Regions from separate parts of the Homo sapiens genome. Here region 2 is linked to region 1. Evidence: promoter capture Hi-C in 16 types of primary human blood cells and fetal thymus (Javierre and others, 2016). All regions are on one chromosome and are shown on one strand. The core of a region is centred on a gene start or on the middle of the fragment in contact, and the rest is flanking DNA. Distances in the headings are between cores, read along the strand shown.

Region 1 (7,286 bases), core at 2,266-4,765:
AGGACATCAAGTAGAAATGCTTCGTGAACAGATCAAGATACAGGACAGGATGTTGGAAGACAGTCAGGGCTTCAGTGTGGATAAGGAGGGAATCAGCCACAGGGGCATGGTCTTGCAGCCGGGGAGGGACTCTGGATGCAGGGGGAGCCAGTGTGGAGAGGGAGGCTGAGGCCAGCAGGAAGAGAACTAGAGGTGGGAGGGGTCAGGGCAAGGGTATGTGTTGAGGTCTCCCCAGTGGCCAGTCCCCTTCTCCACCTCAGCAGCTCCTATTTTCATTTGGAAGATCCTGGCAACTCTGGGGACAGAAGGGATCTCTGGCTGTGGAGTGGAGCACATGGTATCATGATTGATTCGAGGGGGACATGTCTCCTAAGTCTTGCCAACCAGAGACTTACAGGGCTTTTGAATGACACCCTGGGACAAGAAGCTCTTTCTATCACTGTGTGAAGGAAGAGGCAGGTGGCACCAAGAGCAGCAGCCTGGGAGGGAGCATGAGGCTGAGGAAGACAGAGGGGCAGAAAGAAAGAACTAGCCCTATGTGACATCCCTGCGTTGCTCCATCAGTCCTTGCTGGAACCATTTGTGAATGAATAGATGTCCTGTATTTTTTAGCCTGTTAGGTAGAGAGCTTTTCTGTTTCCTGCAAATAGAAGATTCCTAATTCCTATGGAAGATGCAAGAGAGCCTGAAGAATATTGCTTTCAATAATTAAGGAAGAACATTTCAAAATGGAAGAAGGGGTGAATAGTATCAAATGCTGAGAGTGTCAGATCAGAGACTTTTCTGAGGGGGAGCGGTTCTGAGGGGGAGCGGTGAGGGAGAACAGGGTCTTGCTCTGTTGCCCAGGCTGGAGTGTAGTGGTTTGATCGCGGCTCACTGTAGCCTCGACGTCCCGGGCTCAAGCGATCCTCCCACCTCAGCCTCCCAAATAGCTGGGACTACAGACATGTACCACCATGCCTGACTAATTTTTTTTAATTTTTGTAGAGATGGGGTCTTGCTATATTGCCCAGGCTGGTCTCAAACTCCTGGGTTCAAGCGATCCTCCTGCCTTAGCCTCCCAAAGTGCTAGGATTACAAGCGTGAGCCACCGCACCCAGCCCAGAGATGTTTTATAGTTACTCAAAAACTGTGTGACAGAAAAGGAACCTGGGGGTCAGAGAGGCTTCTAGAATCTGGCAGCCCCTACAGCCAGGACTCAGAACTCCCAGTCTGATCAGTTACCTCAAGGAGGAAAGGGAGATGTTTCCCCTTGGGGGAGCTATTTCCAGAGCTCCTCCTCACCCATGTCTTTGCTGTAGCCCTCCCTCCCCCAAGCCCAGCCCCACTCAACTCCTTTCCAGGGGCTCAGTGGCCATCTCCCTGCCCCCAGGCCAAACTCACCTGACTGTACCTCAGATAGAAGAATAGCTAATATTTTTAAAACTGTTTAGGGAAAAAGAAACCACCTTCCTCTTTACTTGCCACCCCAACACTGGGACAGTTCTTCCTCATGTCTAACCTAATTCCCTTCAGCTGGGAGGGACCCATCAGTGCTCCCACTGACCCACCCTTGTTGGGGGGCCTGTAGGGCATCTGAAGGTGACACACTGGACAAGGAAAGAGAGGCAGGCAGGCAATAGGAGTGGCTGCAGAGGCAGACGGGCGTCCTGCCCCAAATACGGCCCCCCGGGCTGCTGCGGCGAGGGCTGGGCTCTTCCTGAGCGGATTACCACTGTGGTCTAAGTGACTGAAGCTGCTGAGAATGCTATTGTAGCAAGAGGCTTACCGAAATGTAGACACCCAGCCCTGGCATGTCCCGACACACAGATGGGAAAATAAGCAGAATAAGCTCCCGGTGCTAAGCCGCTCTATTGTCCTGTTGCTGCTAAAACACCTTGCTGGGCTTTCTGCCAAGCGCCCACCCCTCCAGCACTGCTCACTGTGGCTCTGTGGGCTTCCCCTCTCCTGATGGCAGAGAGGCCGCCCTGCAGGAAGGTGACACAGGGAGGTCGACAGCCCACATGTCCGGCTGCCAGGCTATGCTGTTGAGCCTGAGTATGACAGAGGAGATGCATGCAGTTGGGTAACATGCCCAAGGTCACACAGCAGCACAGTAGCAGGGCCAGGGTTAGCATCTAGATTCCTAACCTCTGGTGAGAGGTCTCTCCCAGGCACCCTGGGTCCCATCTCATCCCAAGCTCTGTCTGCCACAAATCCCCCTTCCTGATTCCCCTACACACCCAGTTCTTTCCCTGCCACAGCCCAGGTGGCTGCCCTCTAGGAACCCTGATGAGCAGACTTGCAACAGATCAGTGTGCAGGTCGGCACGGGATCTTCCTCAATTCGGTGTTGGTTCACTTAACGGGGATGGAGTCACAGGCTGTGGCCACACGACGTGGAGGGAGATCAAGTCCCCACTGCTGCCAGGGGAAAACAGACTAGAAAACTCCCATCCCAGCATCTGAGGACATTAAGGGCAGGCCGGAAATGGGAGCGGATCTGCGATGCCCACTCCACGGGAGGCGAACTGTTGCTTCAGGGAGGAGGCCCTGGTGCCACACAGGTGCAAGGACTTGGGAACCCAGAGGAAGCACTGGGGCTTTCCAGGAGTCTGGTGGCTCTAGAATGGAGGGAGGAGGGGGGTGAGGAAGATGGGGCTGGGGGAGGGGGCAGGGTGGGTGGGGAGAAGATGGGTTTGGTGTAGCAGCAGGGCTGTGGGGTTCTACTGACTGCTGTGCACCTCCACCTGGGCGTCCCGCAAATACTTCCAAGACAACACACCCCAACCTCAACTCAGCGTCACTCCGACAGCCTTTCTCCTGTGTTCGGTGGCCTGGCCGGTGGCGCACCCTCCCCCAAGCACCCAGCCAGAGATCGGAAAGCCCCTCTTCACACCTCCCTCTTCACAAGCTTTCATTTCCTGCCAGTCACACATTTTGCCAAGTTTACCTTCTTGGTTTTTCTCAAATTCATCCTGCCCTCTCCCACCGCTGCCTTGGACCTCTTCTCACCTGGCTGCAGCAACAGCCTCCTGGCTGCCCTCGCGCCTCACCCCTGAAACCCATCCTCCATGCGGCCTCCAGCCTCATCCCTCTTTCCCGTTCAAACTTCCAGGGTCTCCGCATCCCCTGGGAGAGCATTTTAGGCTCCTTAGTATGACCAAAAGGATGTCTATGGTTTGACTCCTGCTTGCCACAGCCGTGCAGTATGGTGGTTAGAAGCACAGATGCTGGAGCCGGATTTCCTGGGTTCAAATCCTATCTGTGGCTGGGCGCAGTGGCTCACACCTGTAATCCCTGCATTTTGGGAGGCCGAGGCAGGCAGATCACTTGAGGTCAGGAGTTCGAGATCAGCCTGGCCAACTTGGTAAAACTCCACCTCTACTAAAAATACAAAAAATTAGCCCAGTGTGGTGGTGCACGCCTGTAATCCTAGCTACTCTGGAGGCTGAGACAGGAGAATAGCTTGAACCCGGGAAGTGGAAGTTGCAAGAGCTGAGATCACACCACTGCACTCCAGCCTGGGTGACAGAGCAAGACTCTGTCTCAAAAAAAAAAAAAAAACCTACCTGTTACTTTCTAGCTGTGTGTCCGAGGCAAGTCACTGAACCTCTCTGTGCCAATGGTTTTCTCACCTATGAAATCGGTATTTTAAGAGTACCTGCCTCATAAACTTGTTGCGAGGATTGAATGAGTTTTTCTGTGTAGAAGCAGTTAGAACTGGAATTATTACCCCCCTACCCCTGCCAGCCTGGCTTCTTCTCCTGCCCCTCTCTGTCTCACACGTTTGTATCCACAGCTCAGCTTTTCTTGTAATTCTCTCTCTAGCAATTGTGCCATTTCTCAGCTCAGTGTCTGGGCCCCTCAAAGGGATAACTTCACCCTGCAGTCATCAGTCCACCCCCAAGAGCCACTGGTCTCCCCCGTGGCTTGGCTCTCCCTAGCACGTGGCTGCCTGCTTTCTTCTCTGTCTCCCCTGCTGCACTAGAGGTCCTTGAGGGCGGATCTGGGTTCCTGGTGCCTAAATCCTGCGTGGTACACAGGAGGCCCTTGATAAATATGTGTGGAACGAATGGTTGCAACATTGTTCCTGGAGAGTTCTCAGAACTCTCTGAGAGTTTGTAGTGAGGAGTGAGGGTGCTTATGAATGAAGCTTCACCCTGCCCCCCCACCCCCCACCACCCCACCCCCCTCCCCATCACCATGGTCCTGGGGATACATGTTAACATTCATGCCCTGCCCAGGTGTGATGGCTCATGGGGGAACTTGGAGACTTAGGAGATAGACAGGCAATGAAATAAGTGTGGTGATCAAGCAAGTATGGACTATAATGGAATGAATAAAATAAATGGTGGAGAGGCCTCATTGGGACCCCCAGGACTGCCCTCTGCTCATGTGGTGATATTGGCACCAAAGACAGGGTGTCTTAGCCAGGAGTAGCTCACTTCTGTCATCCCAGCACTTTGGGAGGGTAAGGTGGGAGGATTGCTTGAACCCAGAGTTCGAGACCAGCCTGGGCAACATAGCAAGACCCCACTTCTGCAAAAAATTAAAAAATTAGCCTGGCATGGTGGCACACACCTGTAGTCCCAGCTACTCGGGAGGCTGAGGTGGAAGGACAGCTTAAGCCCAGGAGTTTGAGGCTGCAGTGGGCCAAGACTGTGCCACTGCACTCCAGCCTGGGCAACAGAGCAAGACCCTGTCTCAAAAAAAATTTTTTTTTTTGAGACATGGTGTCTTGTGGTTACAGATTCTTGGCACCATGGCCCTCCTCCCTCCCTGCCCTCCCATGCCAAGGGCCAACATTGCTGCCCTTTAGTACCTGGAAGGGCTTCACACCATTAAGGGCTTAATATCATGAGGCCCCAAGGCCCCTGCCAGCTCACTGTGTTTAGAGCCATATTTAAATCAGTTCAATGCCTCTGGGAAGAGAAAGCCAGCTGCCCGGTGATCCCTCACTACCTCTCCAGGCAGCTCAGAGATGCCCTCTGAGCTTCTTCCTCCTGGGTTCATCTGGAAGCAATCTAACATTGTTTAAAAGCTAGCCTTGACAGGCAGATCAATTGAGGTCAGGAGTTTGAGACCAGCCTGGCCAACATGGAGAAACCCTGCCTCTACTGAAAAATACAATAATTAGCCGGGTGTGGTGGTGCATGCCTGTAATCCCAGCTACTCTGGAGGCTAAGGCACGAGAATCACTTGAACCCAGGAGGCGGAGGTTGCAGTGAGCCAAGATAGCACCACTGCACTCCAGCCTGGGTGATAGAGTGAGACTCAGTCTCAAATAAATAAATAGATAAATAAATAAAAGCTAGGCTCGAGCTGGACAGCTGGACAGCCTGGGTTTGAATCCTACCTCGACCCTGTAGTAGTTGGGTGGCCCTGGACAAATGTCCTCACCTCTCTGAGCCTCAGCTTCCGTATTTGTAATGAGACCTCCACCATGGAGCTGTGCAACTACATGACCTAATGTACATAAAGTGCTTACAGCAGTGCCTGCGTGTGATTAGCTCTGTTTTATGAACAATGCCCTTGCTTTTACTACATTGCGTTCTGTGTTACTTGCTCTGCTCTCCTGAGTCCTTGTGGGCAGTACCCTCTAGCTTCCTCATTCATCTTGGTATCCCCAGGGCCTGGCACAGTGCCTGGCTCAGAGCAAGGAGGCCAAAAATATTTGTGGAGTGACGTCTGACTTAACCGTCAGAATGAGCACTGGAATGGGCTGGAGCCAACAGCCAGTGCTGCCCACAGGTGGGCAGGGGCACGCTGCCTGGGGAGGGGTGTGAGGGAAGCGGGCCAGGACCAAGGGAGGCCCAGTCAGGGGATGCTTGGTGCTGCTTTTCCTGCTTGCAGATCCCAAGGCGCAGTGGCCATCTGCCGGGGGCGGGAAAGGCAGGCCCGTCCTCCGAAGCAGGTGCCCAGGCAGGTAGAGTCTGGAGCCAGCCTAGAGGATTTACAGTTCTGCCACTGAGCGCCTGGACCAGGGACAGCTAGAGGGAATCCACATGGCCCTGCAGAATGGAGGGGGCAGCTGGCCAGGCCAGGCCTGGGACAGAGGGCACCCCTGGAACTGCCAGGGTTTGAGGAAGGAGGGGCAGTCCTGATGGTTAACCCCTCAGGGGGAAGGGCAGAGGATGTACCCTGCTGGAAGGACTGAGAATGTCAGCAGACAGCCAGCCCTGTGCCTCACCACACTCCCAGGAGACCCGGGCCAAGGTGGGAAGGAGCCTGCTCTGAACCTTACGGGGCTGTGACAGTCCCAGGGCTCACACCCTGCTCACCAGTGTGCTCCTCACCCCACATACAGCTTCGCAGGCACACCTGGGGCCGCGGGGTCTTCATCCTTGGAGCTCAGCTAGGCCATAGCAGGTAGGGGTGGGGGATGGGGGCAGGGATCTGACAGTCTCACTCAGTTGAGGGGGATGTTGAGTCATAGATGTTGGGAAGCCCATTCTAATGGTGATGGGAGTGATCTAAGTCCCTCAAGGACTGGCTTTCTTGCTAACAGATGAGAAAGGGTCTGGCATGTTGGATCATGGGTGAGGGGTGTCCTCTGCTCTAAACCTGCTCAGGGTCGGGCTCCATTTTCTCTTCTCAGCCTTTGAACCCCAAAAGATGGGACTGGCCAACCAATGGACAGCTGAAGATGTCGGCCAAATCCCTGCGGGTGGGGACACCCTGCAGAGTGACAGTGACCTGCTGCAGGAACCCCATACCACACACATATAAACACACTACACGTATACACACACACACCACACATACACCACACACATATACACACACACATGCATATGTACAGCACACACCATATATATACCATACATACTACATACACACACTGTACACATACACACACACACCGCACAGCACACATATACACACACTACACATATATACACACACAGCATTCACACCACACATACTACACACACATCACACACACACACCCCCAACCCCATACACACCACACACATCCCTTTCCCTCCCTCACCATCTCACTAACACACATACACACCACTCTGCTCCTTTCACAAGCTAACAATTGCAACAGACATGCCTGCCGGACTTAATGTTTCCCGTAGGGAATGAGGTGGTGGTCAAGGCCTGGCTTGTGGGAATGGAGGTATGGTTCTATTAGCAGTTGTGTGTATGTGACATATTAAACCTGAGTTTGCTGTTGTTCAATATTCAGTCATTCAACATGTATTTCCACACTGATTAAACACTTACTATGTGCTAGGCACAATTCTAGGTTCTAGGGAATCCTAGTTGAGGTTTCCCAAGAAGTGAACCTTGAGACAA
Region 2 (7,286 bases), core at 1,879-4,378, 110 kb after region 1:
GGGAGCAGTATTTACAAAGACTAGTGTGTGAGAGACTGCATGGCAGGTTTAGGAAGCCACAAGAGAGTGAAGCGGGTGGGGAGAGATGCGGCTGGAAAAGAAGGTGGGATTCAGATCATAGAGGGTCTTGGGACCATAGGAAGGAAAATATGGTCTATGTTAAAGTTTGAACTTTAATGGAAGCCAATGCATAAGAAAAGTAACTCTTCTAAGGACTAACAGTGTCTGCCTCCCTGAATGTCTTCCGTGTCAGTTGCCACAGCCCCCTGAATGAGAGCTGGAGAGACAGGCTTCTAAGGAGGGGCCAAACCAAGGAGCTGTGTGCTGAATCCCTTGAGGGACTTGGGACAGGGGAGAGGCAGGTCAGTTTGCAGTGTATTGGCAGCAACAGATGTGGGCAGCCCAATGTGGGTGCCTTTGATACGGGCAGTGAATGGGGCAATGCTACTGGAGCAAAAGCAGCAGAGAAGGAATAATGAGGTGCTGGCTGGTGGCTGAGATAGCTTTGTGGGGCTCCCAGGGAGAACAGAATTGTGGCTGCAATTGCCCAGTGCAAATAGATAGGACAGGGGAATCGGGGGTGAAGAGGAACAGTTAAAACCTCTCTGCTTAGAAAACTCTAAGAATGCACTTGCCCTGTTTTTTGAGTATTTGTGATGTGACCCAAGTGTTTTATGATTCTTTTTTTTTTTTTTTTTTGAAACAGAGTCTCACTCTGTCACCCAGGCTGGAGTGCAGTGGCACGATCTCAGCTCACTGCAACCTCCGCCTCCCAGGTTCAAGTGATTCTCCTGCCTCAGCCTCCCAAGTAGCTGGGATTACAGGAACGCACCACCGCACCCAGCTGATTTTTGTATTTTTAGTAGAGATATGGTTTCTCCATGTTGCCCTGGCTGGTCTTGAACTCTTGACCTCAGGTGATCCACCTGCCTCGGCCTTCCAAAGTGCTGGGATTACAGGTGTGAGCCACTGCACCCAGTTCATGATCTTCTTTTTAAGGCTCACCTTTCCCTGGTAATTTGGGGAAAATAGGTCCAGGGAGTGGAGGCTGACTGACATCCCAGGATCACTGCCATCAAGCTGACCTCCGCAGAGAGCTGATGCAGGCCAGGCCAATTCTCCCACTGCTGCCCTGTCCCTACATTCTCCACAATACAGTGACACAGGCTGTGTAACAGGCTTTTCTGACATTTTAGATGGAAGGGAAAATGTATATGAAATTGAAATGTGGGGAGGGAAGAACCTTAACACCAAACGCTAAATGAATCATTCCCAGAATCCTAGGAAAATGAAAAGTGCTAACCCCATTAAAAGTGCATTGAAGTGGCTAGCTTTGCTTTCTGCTTCAGGATTCATCGTTTTCCAAGGGCCCCACCTTTAATCCTTCAGAGTGATTCTCCACCCTGAGACCCGCTTACAGGGCACAGTTATACCTCCCTCCCAGTGACTCACAATGATTCAGACGTAGTGCTGGTCTCAGACACAATCCTGCCTGAATCTATATAAAGAAAGAGAAAAATCTCCCTCACTCCACAACAGCATACTATGCCAAGATTTCTCCTGCTTCCAACGTGCAGAGTGTATTTGTTTGTTTTCAAATCTTATGCTTTGTTCTGTTTCTGCAGTTTCTAGAGCACAGCTGGGGACCTGGTACGTAAAAAACCGGCCTTACCTCAGTGCCTTCTCCAACAGCAGAGTCATTGACCCACCCCTATCCCAGCTATACAAGGACCCATGATCTTGAGATTTTCTTGACCTTGGGCCAAATCAAATTCCAAGGCAGGGCTCTAGTCTCAGCAATAGGAAGAGAATTAGTCTAGAGACTGATTTCTTCTTGTCAAGAGCAAACTCCTTGCCAGCGAGGTGTTTTATTTTTTCAATTTCAATGACTCGTCTGCCTCCCCTACAAATCTTGGAGCTCCTTGTGTCGAGGACTGTATCTTAATCATCTCTGGATCTCCTCTCGAAGTGATGTCTGTGCTACCTCCAGAAAGAGCCCATTTCCATTTTGAGCAGTTTCCAACTCAAATAGACATTTGAAACCACAAAACCAATACCCCAGATTTTGCTTCCTGTTTATCCCTGTGATGAGAAGTCCCTAAAATGAGCAAACTGCTGTTGAAAGGCATTCCCAATCAACCTCATTATGCAGTGTTTAGCCTTCTAACACACTGTCATTCCCACGGCATCCAAAGTCCTCATTCCTATAAATGTCACTATTTACAGCAGGGTCAATCCTGCCACCCAGCAAAGGTGTTCTCCATCCCATGGCCAAACAATGAAGTGGAGCCCTGGCTGGAGAAACAGGATTGAGCTAATTGCATGTCACACAGACACACTGGATTTCACAGGCTTGTGTTCTACAGATGGGGCGATGAGGCCAATTCTATTGCATGCATGCTGTTTAAATCTCTACCCAGTCAATATTCAGGGTGGCAGATGGAAGAAATTCTTAAAGGCTCTATTTCTGTTCTTCGACATTCAAAGAAATACTGTGCTACCACCTCTTAAAAATAATTGGTTAAGTACCAAGTTATTTTCATTGCCACAGTCATAAATAAAGAAGTGCTAGACCACAATGTTTATATCTATAGTAGTTGATAATCTTACATGCAAGAAAAATGATTGTTGATGTTTAGGAGGTTGTTTTTCTTGCTTTTTTTCCTCCCTTCCTTTCCTCCCCTACCCCTACCTCCCAGCCAAGAAAAGTCTTGTTGATTAGAGTAACAAGAAGGGGCTGATTTGGAAGTAAAATTAAACTTGACTCTTTCCTGAAGCAAGAACGTAATCTCAAGACTAAAATAAGAAAGTGCCTAACCAACTTGGCATTTTATTCTGAGGAAGATTCCCGATAGAAACTTGGATGGAAGAAAATGAAAGGGAAGCCAATTAGCCTGTGTTAAGCAATGCTAACTTTTAACAAGCTTGCTCAAGAAGAAATGAACCTGTTAAGAGGGTCATCCAGGGCTTCCTTGCCGCCTCGGTGCACAGCTCAATCATGCTTCCTTCTTGTTCATTTTGACAAAGCAGGTGAGTGATGAGCAGGAAAAAATTATGAGGAGGTGTTGGAGCAACTCGCTAATCAGCACTGCTACAAGATCGCCAGCATTTACAGGACCGCATTCACTGAGAAATGATGGCTGCTATGAATGTTCTCGTTTGTGGGCGTCACCTAAACACAACCCTGCCTAATGAATCAATCTCTGGAGAGCCAGAGGGGGCTATTCTAGGTACTGCAGATGTGGATGAGGACAGCTCTCCTCATTTCCTGGCAACAGGAGACTGGTGTGACAACTCTAATTCCTGGAGAGCCATTGGTAAAATCCTCCTTGGGTTCAAGAGTTAGCTAAAAATATGTGGAGGGGAAAGGATGAGTTTGTCCTTTTTTTTTTTTTTTTTTTTTTTTTTTTTTAGTTTATTGCTACTGGGTTTTTTTAAATTTGTCTCTTGAAGGAGAATGGATTATTAATGTTCATTACTGTTCTGATTAGGAGGCAGCCTTTTTCCCTTCCCAGATTAATGTTGGGCAACCCTTCAAATTGGCAGAGAGAAGGGTAACTCCACAACCTGTATGAACAGGGATGGCTTTGCTGCTGTGAAGAACATGTTGCTCTCACTTGCATTACTAGAAAAGAAAGGTGAGATCTGGTCTAAGAAGGGCTGAGGCAGAAATTTAAAAATAAATATGCATTAATTCACTCCGAGAAAAGTAACAGGCAAGGCAAGGGTTAAAAAGAAAAGAAGCAAGTTTTCCTCTGCTTAGCAGCTCACTTCAAGGACAGTTATAAGATAAGGCTGTCCGAAAAGCCAAGGCCAAAGGAATGGGCTCCAGACACCCACTCCTTCCTCCAGAGCAAGGTTGAAAGGAAAAAAAAGAAAGACAAATTCCTTTACTGTTACTCCTTTCCCTGGCTTCTTAAGCATAACTATGTTTTACAAATGTCTGTATTTAGCTAGTTCTTGTTTTTCTTTTGTCTCAGCTACAAGGCCACCAGCTATGCAAGGCCACAAGTTATGCACTATATGGTTAACTGCCTTTGTTTTGCTTTTGTAAGCCCGCTTATAAAAACCCCGCTCTGTCTTTGTTCAATGCTCAGCTTTTTGGATGTGAATCCACTGAGCCGGTGCATATCTTAAAATAAATATCCTCCTGTTCTGCCATATCGGTCTCTCCATTCCTCAGTTTACCTCAACGGGGCAACGTTAGGGAGAGTGTCCTAAGCAGAAGATCCAGGATCCAATTCTACCTCTGCCCTGGCAGGCTCCCGTGGGGCCTCAGCTTCCTCATCTGTAAAATGAGCACTAGAATGATCTGAGCCAGAAACTATGCAATGGGGAAGCTTAAAGACATTACGTTAAGTGAAATAAGCCAGTCAGAAAAGGACAAATACTGTATGATTCCATTTACATGAGCTACCTGGAGTAGTCGGATTCACAGAGATAGAAAGCAGAATGGTGTTGCCGGAGCTGGAGACTGTGGGGAATGGGGAGTTACTGTTTAATGGGTACAGAATATCCATTTTGGAGAATGAAAAAAGTTCTAAGATGGATGGTGGTGATGGCTGCACAGCAGCATGTATGTGCTTAGTGCCACTGAACTGTACCCTTAAAAATGGTTACAATGGTAAATTTTGTTATGTATATTTTACCACTATTTTTTTGAGACGGAGTTTCCCTCTTGTTGCCCAGGCTGGAGTGCAATGGTGTGATCTCGGCTCACCGCAACCTCCGCTTCCCAGGTTCAAGTGATTCTCCTGCCTCAGCCTCCTGAGTAGCTGGGATTACAGGCATGCACCACCATGCCCGGCTAATTTTGTATTTTTAATAGAGATGGGGTTTCTCCATGTTGGCCAGGCTGGTCTCAAACTCCCGACCTCAGGTGATCCGCCTGCCTCAGCCTCCCAAAGTGCTGGGATTATAGGCGTGAGCCACTGTGCCTGGCCTTTCACAATATATATTATAAAATAAACTAAGCAACTATCCACAACATTCACCCAAAGTATCAGGAGTCTCAAATTCAAGCACCCATGGGGGTCAGGCCATTTGTATGAGTGAGCCCACGGTCTTGCCTAGCGTACAGAGGAGGTAGTAGCTCCCAGCCCAGCCAAACCATCCATGCAGGAATGTGATCAGACTTTTCAAGAGGAAGGGAATATTCTGGATATTTATGTGAAATGTCTTAATTATTTAAATTGGCAACTAATTCAAAATTTTAAAAAGCAACAAACTGTGGGCAAACAAAATACATCTGCAGGTGAGATTCTGTTTTCTGCCTCTCTGTAGGTAACCAGTCTGTAGCATCTACTTTTTTTTCTTCTTTGTTTGCCAGCATTCCCACCCCCACATATCTCCCTTAATAACAGGTTCTGGCCAAGACAAACTATCTGGATAAGTCCATTGACCTTCTACATTGTGTACCTATGGGAGCCCAGCCAGAATATGCCAGCATAGGCAGGGTACACCCACCTATAGGCAGGTGCAATGGCATCAACACTGCCATCATTCTAGCAGAGCCTATCAGAGATCTGGGGTACACATGTGCATTTTCTAGCCCCAAACTCACTTTTACCTCAAGAATTCTACTAATTCTTATCATTATTTTCTTAGTTTTCTCAATGGAGACCTAGTGAAATAGTTCTCACCTCCTCTCCCATCACACTCTATGCCTTTGCTCTCTTAATTTCTGGTGTAAAACCAGCTTCCTTACTACATCTGATGTCCACACTCACTACCATATTCAGAAGTCAGATGAGGCCGGGTGCAGGCCTGTAATCTCAGCACTTTGGAAGGCAGAGGTAGGCGGATCACTTGAGGTCAGGAGTTTGAGACCAGCCTAGCCAACGTGGTGAAACTCCATCTCTACCAAAAAAACACAAAAATTAGCCAGGTGTGGTGGCACATGCCTGTAATCCCAGCTACTTGGGAGGCTGAGACAGAAGAATTGCTTGAACCCGGGAGGTAGAGGTTGCAGTGAGCTGAGATTGTGCCACTGCACTCCAGCCTGGGCAAAAGAGCAAGGTCCTGTATCAAAAAAAAAAAAGAAGTCAGATGATATCATGCATCTTTCTTGATTTTTGACAAGTGTGGAAAATACATCCCAATATGTAAGCTTCTAGAGTACAAGGGTTTTATACTTTATGGGAGTAGTAGCAGCCATGCAGATTCTAGAGGTCGCCTGTACTGTATTTCACTTATAAGCCTGATACTGCAACTTGGCAAAATAACATAGGCAGCATTCCACATTTGCTAGCAGCTTCATTTAAAGGTGGGACGTTGTTTGCAAAAGTAGGCCATTTGGAGAAGTGTGGGGAACATATCACTAATCATCTGCCAGTTCCATGCCTGCTTATACCAAATCTGGTAGCAAAAAGGAGAAACTTGAGCATTTCCTTAGGCTAGGCTTTCTACAATTAATTCTCAGTGACAGCGCAGATGTCTCTTGCTTGTAAGAAGCCATCAAAAGGTTCTTTTGGATGTGCTATGCTCTCCCTAAGTGGGGAAGCAGAAGTACTGCTTAGATAAACAGATCTGCATTCTCAGGAAATTCTGCTCTGCTGGCTATGGGAAGGCTGTAGGCTCTGTATTCAGTGAGTCTTTCTGCCCAACCACCCATGTGGTTCAGTGTGGCCCTATGCCCAGCAATGCCTCTTTCGATCAGCACTTTTCCCCAGACAACTACGGTTTACCTGTTTGAGAGCCATGACAATTTTTCTCCTGTTTATCATTCTGCTGGCAAGTATAGAGAGCCTACTATGTGCTGCGCACTGTGCTAGGAGATGGGATATAACAAGTAAGACACTCTCCCCTCCCTCAAGAAGCTTACCCAATAGTGGGGGAAGCAGAGCCATAAACAGATGATTAGAACCTGTCCTGAGTGTTTGGATGGATGCGGTTTTGGTGCTCTACCCAGATCCTCTTCCCTGGCTCAGCACACCCACCTCTGCAGCATGGGGGTTGGCTGCTAATGGCTCATGGGTGCCCCTCTCCTCCTGAGAGTTGTCCTCAGATGATGGGTGCTGCCTCTCCTCCTCCCTTATACCCACCCACTCCCTTATACCCTTTGGCAGCCCACAGCCAAAGGATGGACTGATGTGGCCTGGGCACAGTAGCTTATGCCTATGATCTCAGCAGTTTCAGAGGCCAAGGCAGGAGGATCACTTGAGGTCAGGACTTTGAGACTAGCCTGGGCAACCTAGGGAGACCTCATCTCTACAAAAAATAAACAAAATCAGCCAGGCGTCATGATGCACACCTGTAGTCCCAGCTCCTCGAGAGGCTGAGATGGG

Evidence for each region. Contacts are between HindIII fragments. The CHiCAGO score rates a contact against its expected background, and 5 or more counts as called.
Region 2: the fragment with the promoter of LEMD1-AS1 here is called in contact with a fragment that was not itself captured in region 1 in 4 of 17 cell types (naive B cells, total B cells, endothelial precursors and 1 more); the score reaches 6.3 in naive B cells.

Annotation. Positions count from the first base shown.
Region 1 is chr1:205,476,439-205,483,724 of GRCh38, reverse strand. No RefSeq gene overlaps it. Among named protein-coding and RNA genes, the nearest start is that of TRK-TTT8-1, 5.9 kb to the right of the region's middle. RefSeq lists an enhancer at 1,851-2,451 and a silencer at 2,627-2,686. The HindIII fragment of the contact is 1,242 bases long and covers 2,895-4,136 here.
Region 2 is chr1:205,369,094-205,376,379 of GRCh38, reverse strand. LEMD1-AS1 (LEMD1 antisense RNA 1) reads right to left here and starts at 3,128. Exons shown (of 4, transcript NR_038425.1): 1 at 2,946-3,128. RefSeq lists silencers at 1-159, 3,705-3,999. The HindIII fragment of the contact is 1,416 bases long and covers 2,927-4,342 here.